2 separate regions of the Homo sapiens genome follow, and region 1 is linked to region 2. Evidence: promoter capture Hi-C in 16 types of primary human blood cells and fetal thymus (Javierre and others, 2016). All regions are on one chromosome and are shown on one strand. Each heading gives the region's core, a stretch centred on a gene start or on the middle of the fragment in contact. The rest is flanking DNA. Distances are from core to core; before and after follow the strand shown. Region 1 holds the start of VEZF1 (vascular endothelial zinc finger 1). Region 2 holds the start of OR4D2 (olfactory receptor family 4 subfamily D member 2).

Region 1 (5,956 bases), core at 1,724-4,223, 180 kb before region 2:
GGCAACATAAAGTATTTTTACAGCATTGCTGAAGCTCACTCTCACAGGAGGGTCACACCAGGTCCCTGCTTCTTGGGTGAAATGCTGCAGAACCACTACAGGAATCACTCTCTGAGGATTCCTAGGATCCCCACACTTCTACAAGAAGCCTTCTAAGGGGGAACTGGGTTTTCCCAACTTCTTCTCTGGGGGAGAGACAGAGTAAAATAACAACCACGGCCAGCCTTCAGTTAAGTGATTTATTTTAAAAATATAACTTCTGGGTAGGCTTTTATTTGACTAGCATCATCAAACCAAAGTTTTAATTTTATATCCCATCTCTTTCAACTGCAAGGCTTTTTAACCCTGCCCAAGCTTTCCTTTTCCTGGGGCTGGCAAGAAACAAAACAGAAATGTTATTTCATCACCCAGGGTAGTAGGATATGGCACCATGAAATCTCCAGTGCCAGAGGGTAAAAGATTTTGTACTGAACAAATTAACATCGGTGAGTCACATCTTGAATGTCCTGTTAGAAGAATCATCCATCAAACATTTTAATAGCTATAGCTTTCACTTTCCACCAAGTTATCTGGAAAGCAAGCAGGTATTAAATTGTTTCAAAATATAAATTCAACAGGATGCTCCAGGAAACAAACAAGATAATTTAACTCCATATCCCCAGTGAAAATTACTTAAAACCAGAACTGATTAAGTCTATTCATACCTTTCCATAGAAAAGACTGAAATATTCTCTTTACCCATTCAACTGCTCTCGGCTCTAAATTTTAAGTTTTCCAACAAATTTCACTGCACACATTGCCAAGCCCAGGATTAAATATTTGTTTTCACACTTCTCCATCAGGTGGAAAAAAAGATTTTAATAGCTGAAAAAAATTAAATAATATAAAATCTAATTAAAAAGTTGATCAATAAACGCTTGGCATTTGTTTTACCCAGGAGAAAAATAATCTTTAAAAAAGTATTTCAAAAGATTTTTCAACCAGCTTTCCAAAGATGTGTTATGGGTTTTTCCTTTACATGAAGAACACTTTTTTTTTTCAATCTCTATAGACACCATGCTTAATATGGTTTTTAATCACACGAAAATCACTTCAGTGGCACATCAATCCCATATTTTAAAATAACCATTTGAGCTTTTTTCTGGGGAAAGTATTTGCCACCTTTACACCAACCTGGATGCATGCTAGTTATATATCATTTCTTTTCCAATGCATTTTCAAGTTGGTTTATCACATTATTAGCAAGCTCATCAAAGTACAATAAAACAACACTGATCAGAATGAGAAAAGGGGGAAGTTCATGAATTCCATAATGTTGGGTATTTTAGATTTTAAGAAGCCCAAATATATTTCCATAACTACTTAAAGATCAAATTGCCCACATTTGAAAAAATATGTCTTAAAACAACAGGCCAGTCTACACAGTAGGTAATTTCTGAGTTATCCAATTCTCTATATTAACTCCACTAGGATGAATCCAGTGGCTGGGAGAATAATTTTTTGAAAATTCTGCATCCGTTCCTGTTAGTTTCAAAAGGTATCAAGCGCCCCAGCTACGCGTTTGGGATTTCACGAAGTATTCAAAGGAAAATAACTCAGAGAGGCGGGAAGAACGCACTTAAAAGTGACGAGCTTCCTAACCTCCTCCAGTTCCGAAGTTTCCCCGTGAGCTCATCGCTACTGCCCACTGAATGCTTCGTTTTGCAAACAGAAACGAAGTAGGAAAAAAATAAGTTCCAGCCTAGATCTGCCAAACAGGGGTCCCCCATCTAAAGTGGGCGGGCAAGAGAATTGCCAAAACACATCGGCTACAGTCACTTTCAAGTTTCTTGCAAAAAAGCGAAGACCAACATCCCAGAGAGTGACTCATCTGGGGGCTTTGTAAGCGGACTTTGTTTGCTCTCTCCACTTGGTTGGAGGAAACGTTCGAGGTGGGCGAGAAAGAAAAGCGCTTCGGGAGAAGGTCGGGCCTCCAGGAGTCCCGGCCCCCACCGCTCCCCGCCTGCCCCGGGCCGGCCCGGCTGGGGGATTCCCCAGGCTGAATGGGACGGCGGGAGAGCTGGACAGAGGGAGAAGGTGTCAGCTGCCAAGGCTCGGCTGAGACTTGGGAAAAAAAAATGTAAATCCAGTGAAAAAGTTTGGGGAGGGGATACACACTCACAACATCCGCCCCCCCAACTGGGTAAACACGAGAGGGGTGGTGGCGGTGAGGGGGAGTGGCGGGGAACCTGGGGATACCCGCTATTCGCGGGGACACGGGAGGGGGTCAGAAAGTCAACACACGCACGCACACACACAAAAAGACGAGGAAGGTGAAAAGAGAACAAGCGAAAGATGGATGAAGTGGCGGGGAGGAGACTCAGGGCAGGACCTGGGGACCTCCTCACCCCACCGTGGGGGACCGGGCCGGCACGCAATGGCCCAGCAGCCCGCGCTATCCAGCGGCCCGGCGCCCTCCTTTCTCTGGGCCGCGGGGTGGTGACAGCGACCGGCCTCCTCCCTTCCCCTTCAGAGCGAGAGGGAAGGGTGTGTGTGAGTGTGTGTGTGTGCGTGTGTGTGCTGGGGGGCCCCCGGGTTCACCCCGCGGCCTGCTATCTCCCCCGCACCCCGTGAGGCCGCCTCCTTTCACCTCAGCAGCCCCGCTTCGCCGGGGCGGGCGGGCGGAAAAACAAAGGGGGATTAAGGCCGGGCCGGAGAGCGGAGCCGGGAGGGAGGGGAGGAGGAGCGCCCGCCCGCCCGCCAGCCCGGGGCCCGGCCCCCCTGTCCCCCCCGTGCCCCCCCGGGGGGGCCCCCAGTACCTGGAACAGGAACGCGGTCCAGTTGGCCTCCATGGCTGCGGCGGCCGACCCCCCTCCTCCCCACTCCCCCCGCTCGGGGAGCCTCCTCAGCCGGAGGAGGCGACAACAAAGCGGCGGCGGCGGCGGCGGCAACGGCAGCGGCGGCTCCTCAACATGGCAGCGCCGAGCGCGGCCACTTCCGGTAACCTCCGGGACGCACCACCGCGGCGGCGAGCGCGGGCGGGGGGGGAGCCCCGGCCCGGCCGCCGCCGCCCCCAGTCGCCCGGACCCCCTCTGGGCGTCCCCGCTGCCGGCTCGCCGCCTCGGAGCTCAGCCAGTGCCCGCTGGCGGTGGGGTCAGGGCCCCCGCGGGGGGGCTGGGGTGGGGCCCGGGGCGGGGATGGGGCGCGGCGTCCCCCCCCGCGGGGGTGTGTGGTGCTGCGGTCCGTGGCTCAGGCAGCTGGAGCAGGGGGAGCTCAGGAGAGAAGATGGAGGACGCCAGGGTCTGGCGCTGGCCCGCTGGGCACAGCTGGGCCGTCTCCCGTGACTCAGACACGGTGTCCAGCACCGTCGCGTCCCTGTTAGACCCTCAGCGGAGGGCACAGGCCACGGCGGACACTCGGCTCTTCAGTCGCTCATGCACAGCATGGTCCCCACCTCCAAACTGGGGGAAGCCCTTTCGACTTCGAGCCTCTCTTCCTTTTGGCATTTCCTCCCCGGCCGGCTAAGCCCTCTGCGCTCTCGCTATGATATGCATCTCATGGCGAGATGGCCTTCCAACTCAAGCAGGGAATCCCACTGGGGTGCAGCCTCAGATCCTCTCAGTGTGGAGGGAAACACTTCCCACGCGTAGAGATGTCATTACTGGGTTATTCTTGGGTGAAGGGCTGAGCCTCCCCATCCTCCCCTTCACTCCAAGATAGGATGTGAAATTCTATCCCAACACCCCTCCTCTCCCGCCAAAAATAAAAACAAGTGAGATAGTATAGACAAATTATTTTAGTCCTTTAGTACAGTCTGTTTCCTCCTTCACCCCCAGAACAAAAATCGAACTTCTGGTTGGACAGCGTCAGATGTCACTGAGGTGACCCCAGCCTGTTTGCAGTTCCAAGTCTTCCGTGTAGGCGTCACTGCTACTGGAACTTTGTAGATGAGGAGCCTGTATGATGATGTCCTGAACATTTCTATCCTTTCCTCACACAGAGGGAAGCTACTGGGAATATCAGAGACAAGCTATTATTAAACAAGTGTCTCTAGTCCAAGACATCTCCTGTGGCAGGGAAATGAGGGGGCAGGCTGTATCAGTGATATTTTTATAAACTCTGGTTTTAGAAAAAATTCTTCAGATGGACGCATTATTTTAAGACTTTAACATTTTCCAAAACCAACTGAATCTTATCCCCTCCATTTATCCCCCTCCAGACACTTCTAATCAAGGTCACCATCTCCAACTTCCCCCATAGACAATAAAAATATGGCTGGAGAATTCTACTGTAATAGAAAACCAAGGAGATATAGTAATTTGACAGTGTGTTTCCTTTCCATCCACTAGACAAGAATACCCCCTCCCATTCTTTCCTCCCCTCAGTCACCAGAATGAAGGGGCTGGAAAACGTTGGTCTGGTTCCTTTTAGAGCTGATTCCCCATTGGATACTGCCTGGAGGCCTTGGGGATGAATGAGAAGTTCTGCAGTTTGGATCAGTAGCAGAAGCAGGTAACACATCAGGGAACCGGTCAGCCTAAGATAGGAGGGGACAGAAAATGATGAAAGAGTTTCTGATACATTTATCAGCTAAATTGCTATGGTCACCCCCATGTCTCCTGTAATGTCCAAACCTAAGGAATTAACTAAGTAAACTAAAACCTTTGTGTTCTTGCTCTGACCTTGGACAATGGAATTCTTCTTATTTTCATTCAGTGGATAGCAAATCTGCTTCTTCCCTGCCTTAACTCACTCAAGGTCTCTGTGATGCACTCCAGAGTTTTCCTCCTTCCCTGCATAGTCTTCTCCTCCCTAGCTGCCTTTCAAATTGGTGAAAATGAAGCTTCAGGATTATGAAAACTAGTACTTAATGAAGACCATTATTCTAATGACAATATCGCTGGACTCTTGAACTTGTTATGCTGGGATCTAGAAACCCTTTCCCCAGCAATCTTTCACACAGCACCTCTGGGAAGCGGTTTCCCACTAACAGGAAATAGAGGTCAAGTGGAAACAGTCCAGTTCTCATTACTGAAAAGCTAAGATTCAGAAGAATCACTTTTCTTGAGGAAAATGGCTAATTCTATTTCTATCCATAAGACAAAATCAGAATTGATTGCTCCTCAAACATTCTTTAAAAAAAAATTAACCTTTTAAGTTCATGTAAATTTTAAACACTGAGCTATTTTCCAGAAGGAAAATACTCAGAAGTTTGAAACAAGTACTCAAAAACAATCGGTTCCAACTGTTAGAGGAATATAATGAAACCAGTATGATCAAATGCTCCATCCTTACCTAGAAGGGGCTATTTCTACTTTTAGGACAGAAAATTTCTCTAACCAAACAAAAAGGAGCTCTCTCCTTAAGTGAGCTTCCACAGACTATATACTGGGGTCCAGTCAAAAGACAGATGTCCAAAGACAGCAAATTCATCTAGATTATTGTAAACAATTTTCGGTGAGTGAGTAAATGGTATTACCTTCAGCCATGATGAATAAAGCATCTAAGCCAAAAATACAATGTGCCTACATCTACCCAAACAAAAGTCAGATCCCCAACTTGCCCTGTTCAGGTTCCTCTCTCCTCCTCCCACACTCCAAGTTGTATAACCTGTCACCTAACCTTTTAGGGTCTCAGCTTCCTCATCTGGAAAATTAGAACAAAATATCTACCTCACAATGGTCACCTGTGGATTTAATGAGAAATATGTGTAAGATGCTTAGAACATTTTCCAGATATATAACAGATGTGAAATAAATATTTTTATTGGTGTTATCGAGTGGTTCTAGATTAACTTTGGGGCTTGGAACTCTGCACATAAGCTCTGAGCCAGTTAATTATCCCTTTTACTTTCGCCAAGTGACAGGTTTTCTCCCATCCATTTCTCCTTCAAAGAGCCCTAAGGTAAACGGGCAAAGGGCTAATGACACATAACAAAGGAAGATGCCTATTAAAATCTGTTGTTCTAAACACAACT
Region 2 (5,313 bases), core at 2,643-5,142:
AAAACTGCAAGGGGAATGTGATGTTGAAAACGGATGCCTCCGATTACATAGGAAAACAACAAAGCACAGAATTCGCCCTATGAGACTTAGAGGGAGGATGCTCACAGCAAAGGACATCAACGGTGAGGAAAATCACAAGATTCTCGACATTGTCACATAAAACAAAGTCACATTTACCTGCTAATATATTAAGTTGGCAAACATTTCTGAGCAAGTGCTAAATCAGAGATGCTGTCATAGACTCTGGGCTTACTAAGTTATTGAATTTACAATCTAGTTAAGAGAAGCAATAGAAAAAATGATAAATGCTATAATGGAGGTATTTATCAAATGCTATTGGAACACAGAGAAATAAGGAATTAATTCTGCATGAGAGAAATGGGGGGAGGAGTCAAAGGGAAAGTGATATTTCTCTTATCGCCTCTAGGTTGAGAAGGTAGCAAAAGGCATTTCAGGAAACAGGATTTATTACCAAAGATATGAAAATAATGAAATATACTGCCTACATGGAAGCTATGAGTTCTTTGAACAGCAATCAGTTCCCAGGTGACAGTGATACTGATTAGAAAGGTATAGGGAGGCTATTTTTTATAGTCTTGTATGAAATGCTGAGAGAGAGTTGCATGCACGTATGTAGGTATGTTTTTCCACCCTCAGTTTATCCACAGAGCATTTTAGGTGGCTTCTGAGAGTTTGAGTTTTAAGCTGTGAGCAAATCAAATATTATAACAATGAGGAATATGATCACATCTGAGTCAGAGGGGTCTCATGGACAGCTGTGTAGAAGGTGTCCTGGAGTGAGGCCAGGCGCGGTGGCTCATGCCTGTAATCCCAGCACTTTGGGAGGCGGAAGCGGGCGGATCACGAGGTCAGGAGATCGAGACCATCCTGCTAACACAGTGAAACCGTGTTACAAAAAAAATTAGCCGGGCGAGGTGGTGGGCGCCTGTAGTTCCAGCTACGCGGGAGGCTGAGGTAAAAGAATGGCGTGAACCCGGGAGGCGGAGCTTGCAGTGAGTGAGCCGAGATCGCGCCACTCCAGCCTGGGCGACAGCGAGACTCCGTCACAAAAAAAAAAAAAAAAAAAAAAAGAAGGTGTCCTGGAGTGGAAGTAAACTGAAGGAGCAGAATAAGATTAGAATGACCTATAATATTGTAGATAATAGATTGCAATAGGCCAGGTAAGAGAGGGTAAGAGAGATTGAGACAGGGCAGGGGGAGGGGGGAGACCACTGACCCCCTCCCCTGTCACCCTCCATCTTCTTCTTCTTTTTTTTTTGTTTTTGATTTTTTGAGACAGAGTCTCGCTCTGTCACCCAGGCTGGAGTGCAGTGGCATGACCTCCACTCACTGCAGCCTCCAACCAGCTTCAAGCGATTCTCCTGCCTCAGCCTCCCAAGTAGCTGAGATTACAGGTGTGTGCCACCACGCCCGGCTAATTTTTTTGTATTTTTAGTACAGATCCGGAGTTTCACCATGTTGGCCAGGCTGGTCTCAAACTTCTGACTTCAAGTGATCCATCCGCCTCCGCCTCCCAAATTTCTGGGACTACAGGCGTGAGCCACCTCTCCCGGCTCCTCCATCTTCTTCTGTCCCTTTAGTCCCGTTTTCTCCACCTCCCCAGCACTTTTCCACTTCCTTTACCTTCACTTGCTCTATTCCTTCATCTCCCTTTATTCCTTTGTCTATTTCTATTTGTTTTCTTTCAACAACTTCCTTTGTCTCCCACCCTTGGATTCAGTAACATCTTGTAAAATTCCTGTTTCATTCAGAAGCTCTCTGAGTCCCCTTCATACAATATTCATCATCTATTTCTCAATCCAATGACTCTCCCTCCCTTTTCTCCCTCTTGTCTCAGCACCACCACATATGCCTCACTCATAAGGGGCCGCCCACAGTGGAGGGCAGGGGAACTACTGGATGTCTCAGGCATCCAGCTGCATCCAGTGTCTTCCTTGTGCTGAACTTGTGCACCTGATAGCTATTCACCCATGCAGCAGTCAACACCAAGAGCTTTTTAAGTTAACTGTCATTAAGAATGGGTACTGCAGGGCACAAATAAATTGTGAGATCCAGATATAGGCTTTGGACTTAATAGTTGAATTGTGGAGGGAAAATATAGACAAGGAAAATCCATTAACACGATGATGTATTAAATGTCATGTGAAAAATAATTGGCAAAGAATCTTATTACAGAGTGGAAGAGAGGATATCTTTAGATTAAGAGAATTCACACAGGTGAGTAATTGCCATTGATTATTCCATACACTGTTTTAGGAACTTTATATCTATCATTCTACTTAAGTCCTCAGAAAATTCTACAAAGCAGGTATTTTTATTTCTACCTTACAAATTCCCGTGAAAACTGAGGCCCAGAAAGATTAAGTAAGTTACTCATGGTCAAATCACAATGAAATGAAAGACCTGAAATTTGACTTCAGATGTATCTGACTCCAAGTGTCTTCCCACCACTATATGAATCTTTGAAAGGCAGGTTGTATATACTTCTGGATGGCGTTAAGATTTCAGGAATGTATATTCCAGCACCCACTTGTAAACGATCCAGAGACAAGACAGCACCTAGTATAATGGTCTACACATAAGGATGCTCATCATATGGGCCTAAAACCTTGGTTCTGAGCCCCTGAGCCCTGAAAGGGAAAGTAGTGACTTCATGTATCTGTGTCTGTGGTTCATTTTCTTCAGGTGTATGGAGAAAACACCATGGAAACAGGGAACCTCACGTGGGTATCAGACTTTGTCTTCCTGGGGCTCTCGCAGACTCGGGAGCTCCAGCGTTTCCTGTTTCTAATGTTCCTGTTTGTCTACATCACCACTGTTATGGGAAACATCCTTATCATCATCACAGTGACCTCTGATTCCCAGCTCCACACACCCATGTACTTTCTGCTCCGAAACCTGGCTGTCCTAGACCTCTGTTTCTCTTCAGTCACTGCTCCCAAAATGCTAGTGGACCTCCTCTCTGAGAAGAAAACCATCTCTTACCAGGGCTGCATGGGTCAGATCTTCTTCTTCCACTTTTTGGGAGGTGCCATGGTCTTCTTCCTCTCAGTGATGGCCTTTGACCGCCTCATTGCCATCTCCCGGCCCCTCCGCTATGTCACCGTCATGAACACTCAGCTCTGGGTGGGGCTGGTGGTAGCCACCTGGGTGGGAGGCTTTGTCCACTCTATTGTCCAGCTGGCTCTGATGCTCCCACTGCCCTTCTGTGGCCCCAACATTTTGGATAACTTCTACTGTGATGTTCCCCAAGTACTGAGACTTGCCTGCACTGACACCTCACTGCTGGAGTTCCTCAAGATCTCCAACAGTGGGCTGCTGGATGTCGTCTGGTTCTTCCTCCTCCTGATGTCCTACTTATTCATCCTGGTGATGCTGAGGTCACATCCAGGGGAGGCAAGAAGGAAGGCAGCTTCCACCTGCACCACCCACATCATCGTGGTTTCCATGATCTTCGTTCCAAGCATTTACCTCTATGCCCGGCCCTTCACTCCATTCCCTATGGACAAGCTTGTGTCCATCGGCCACACAGTCATGACCCCCATGCTCAACCCCATGATCTATACCCTGAGGAACCAGGACATGCAGGCAGCAGTGAGAAGATTAGGGAGACACCGGCTGGTTTGAGAGTGACAATGGTAGGTTTCTTCTCTTTGGCTTTGTTTTCCCTTTGTGAAGTGGAGAGGGAGCTACTACCTTTGCTCTCTTCATAGTGTGTTGAGGTTCATCATAGCAGGGAATGAATTTTGAAACTAAGCAACTTCGTGTTTTAGGAAAAAAGAAAGTATCCTCTTTGGTGGTTAAGGTTTGTGATAAAGAGTTTTAACACACTCGCAACAATGAGAATTGTTCACATGGCCCCTGAAAACCACACCTTCCTTTTCACCTTCTTGGTGGACAGTTTCCTGTTGACAGCATTTCCCCTGTGCGAACATTTCTATTTTCCGTATTTTGAGCTCTCTTCCCAATATTTCCTTTTGGTGTGAGTCTGGGTTGTTGGGAACAGCACAGAATTTGGAGTCTTAAGCTCTAAATTAGAGGCCCTGACCCATCATTGACCAAACTGATGACTTCGAGTAAGCCACCCAGCTTTTCTTGGCCTCATGATTTCTCCCTCACCAATTTGCTTAAATTAGTATGTGCCCCTAAAATATTCTATGTTTGTTATGAGATTCAAATAAAAAAATTTTGTGATAAAACAACAAGTAAATCATATAACTATATGTTATCTTCCAAGCTTTTAAAAATGATTGTATTTTATTTTCAAATATGAAATTATTATGAGTATTCAAGCTTTTTCTCTCTATATTTACATTTTAATATAATATACAAATTTTGAATAAAAGATCATGGGCAATGCATGCACATTATGAAACTTATGTCATTATGTATAAATGCTCATGTATACACTACTCGATTCAAGAACCAGAAGTTACCAATAACTTGCCTTCACCTGTATTGTCCTCTCCATTGTGTTCACCTTGATTCCTATCCAGAAGAAATCACTCTGTTGAATTTCATGTTTATCACTTCATTGCTTGTATAAAATAGTTTCATCACTTTTTTTACATAAACAGTATATTGTTTTGCTACTTTGGAGTTTTATAAAGATATTGTACTGTACATAATATTCTGGGATTTGCTTTTTTCACTCCATGTTATGTTTCTAACATAACATGTTGATGTTTGGCTCTAATTCATTCATTTGCTCTGCTGTAGAATATTCCACTGTGAAAATAAGTTTATTTGGGTTGTTTCCAGGTTTTGGCTATTGGAGAGTGCTTTTTTTGAGACGAAGTTTCACTCTGCTGCCGAGGCCGGAGTTCACTCATCACCACACCCAGCTAAGTTTTGCATTTTCAGTAGAGATGGGGTTTCTCCATGTTGGAGTTGTGACCATTATTGCCTAAACTATTTTTACTGCGCCTTTCTCTCCTCTTCTTCCAGGATTCTCATTATGTGTGTGTCTTGGTATCCTTGATGGTGTCTCACAGGCTTCTGAGCCTATGTTCATTTTCGTTTATTCTTCTTTTTGCTCCTTAGACTGGATGATTTCAATTGACCTATAATATCTCTAGACCTCTGATTCCGAAATGCCATCATAGAGGAAAATTGGATTCACTCCCCGACTTCCACAGAACCAAAAACAAATATATAGCACTGAGATCTACACCAGAAACAACCCAGAGCTCAAGTATAAGAGTGAGACAGTTCTTGGGGCCACAGAGGGATGAAAAAAGTCCAAGCAGCTGATAGGAGAATCAGACTTCCACATCTGGGACACCCCTCATC

What was found. The method cuts DNA at HindIII sites, captures the fragments that hold promoters and counts their contacts. A CHiCAGO score of 5 or more calls a contact.
Region 1: the fragment with the promoter of VEZF1 here is called in contact with a fragment that was not itself captured in region 2 in 4 of 17 cell types (total CD8 T cells, non-activated CD4 T cells, naive CD4 T cells and 1 more); the score reaches 7.1 in total CD8 T cells.

What each region holds. Positions count from the first base shown.
Region 1 is chr17:57,985,281-57,991,236 of GRCh38, forward strand. It overlaps VEZF1 (vascular endothelial zinc finger 1), which reads right to left and starts at 2,974. Exons shown (of 6, transcript NM_007146.3): 1 at 2,799-2,974. The coding sequence starts at 2,831. It overlaps LOC101929185 (a long non-coding RNA gene), which reads left to right and starts at 2,830. Exons shown (of 1, transcript XR_001752716.3): 1 at 2,830-5,754. It also overlaps a transcript of SRSF1 not described here. RefSeq lists silencers at 2,237-2,306, 2,387-2,866, 2,937-3,216 and enhancers at 3,367-3,416, 3,437-3,576. The HindIII fragment of the contact is 4,468 bases long and covers 353-4,820 here.
Region 2 is chr17:58,166,932-58,172,244 of GRCh38, forward strand. OR4D2 (olfactory receptor family 4 subfamily D member 2) reads left to right here and starts at 51. Exons shown (of 2, transcript NM_001004707.4): 1 at 51-122; 2 at 2,707-4,185. The coding sequence starts at 2,725. The coding sequence ends at 3,648. The HindIII fragment of the contact is 727 bases long and covers 3,530-4,256 here.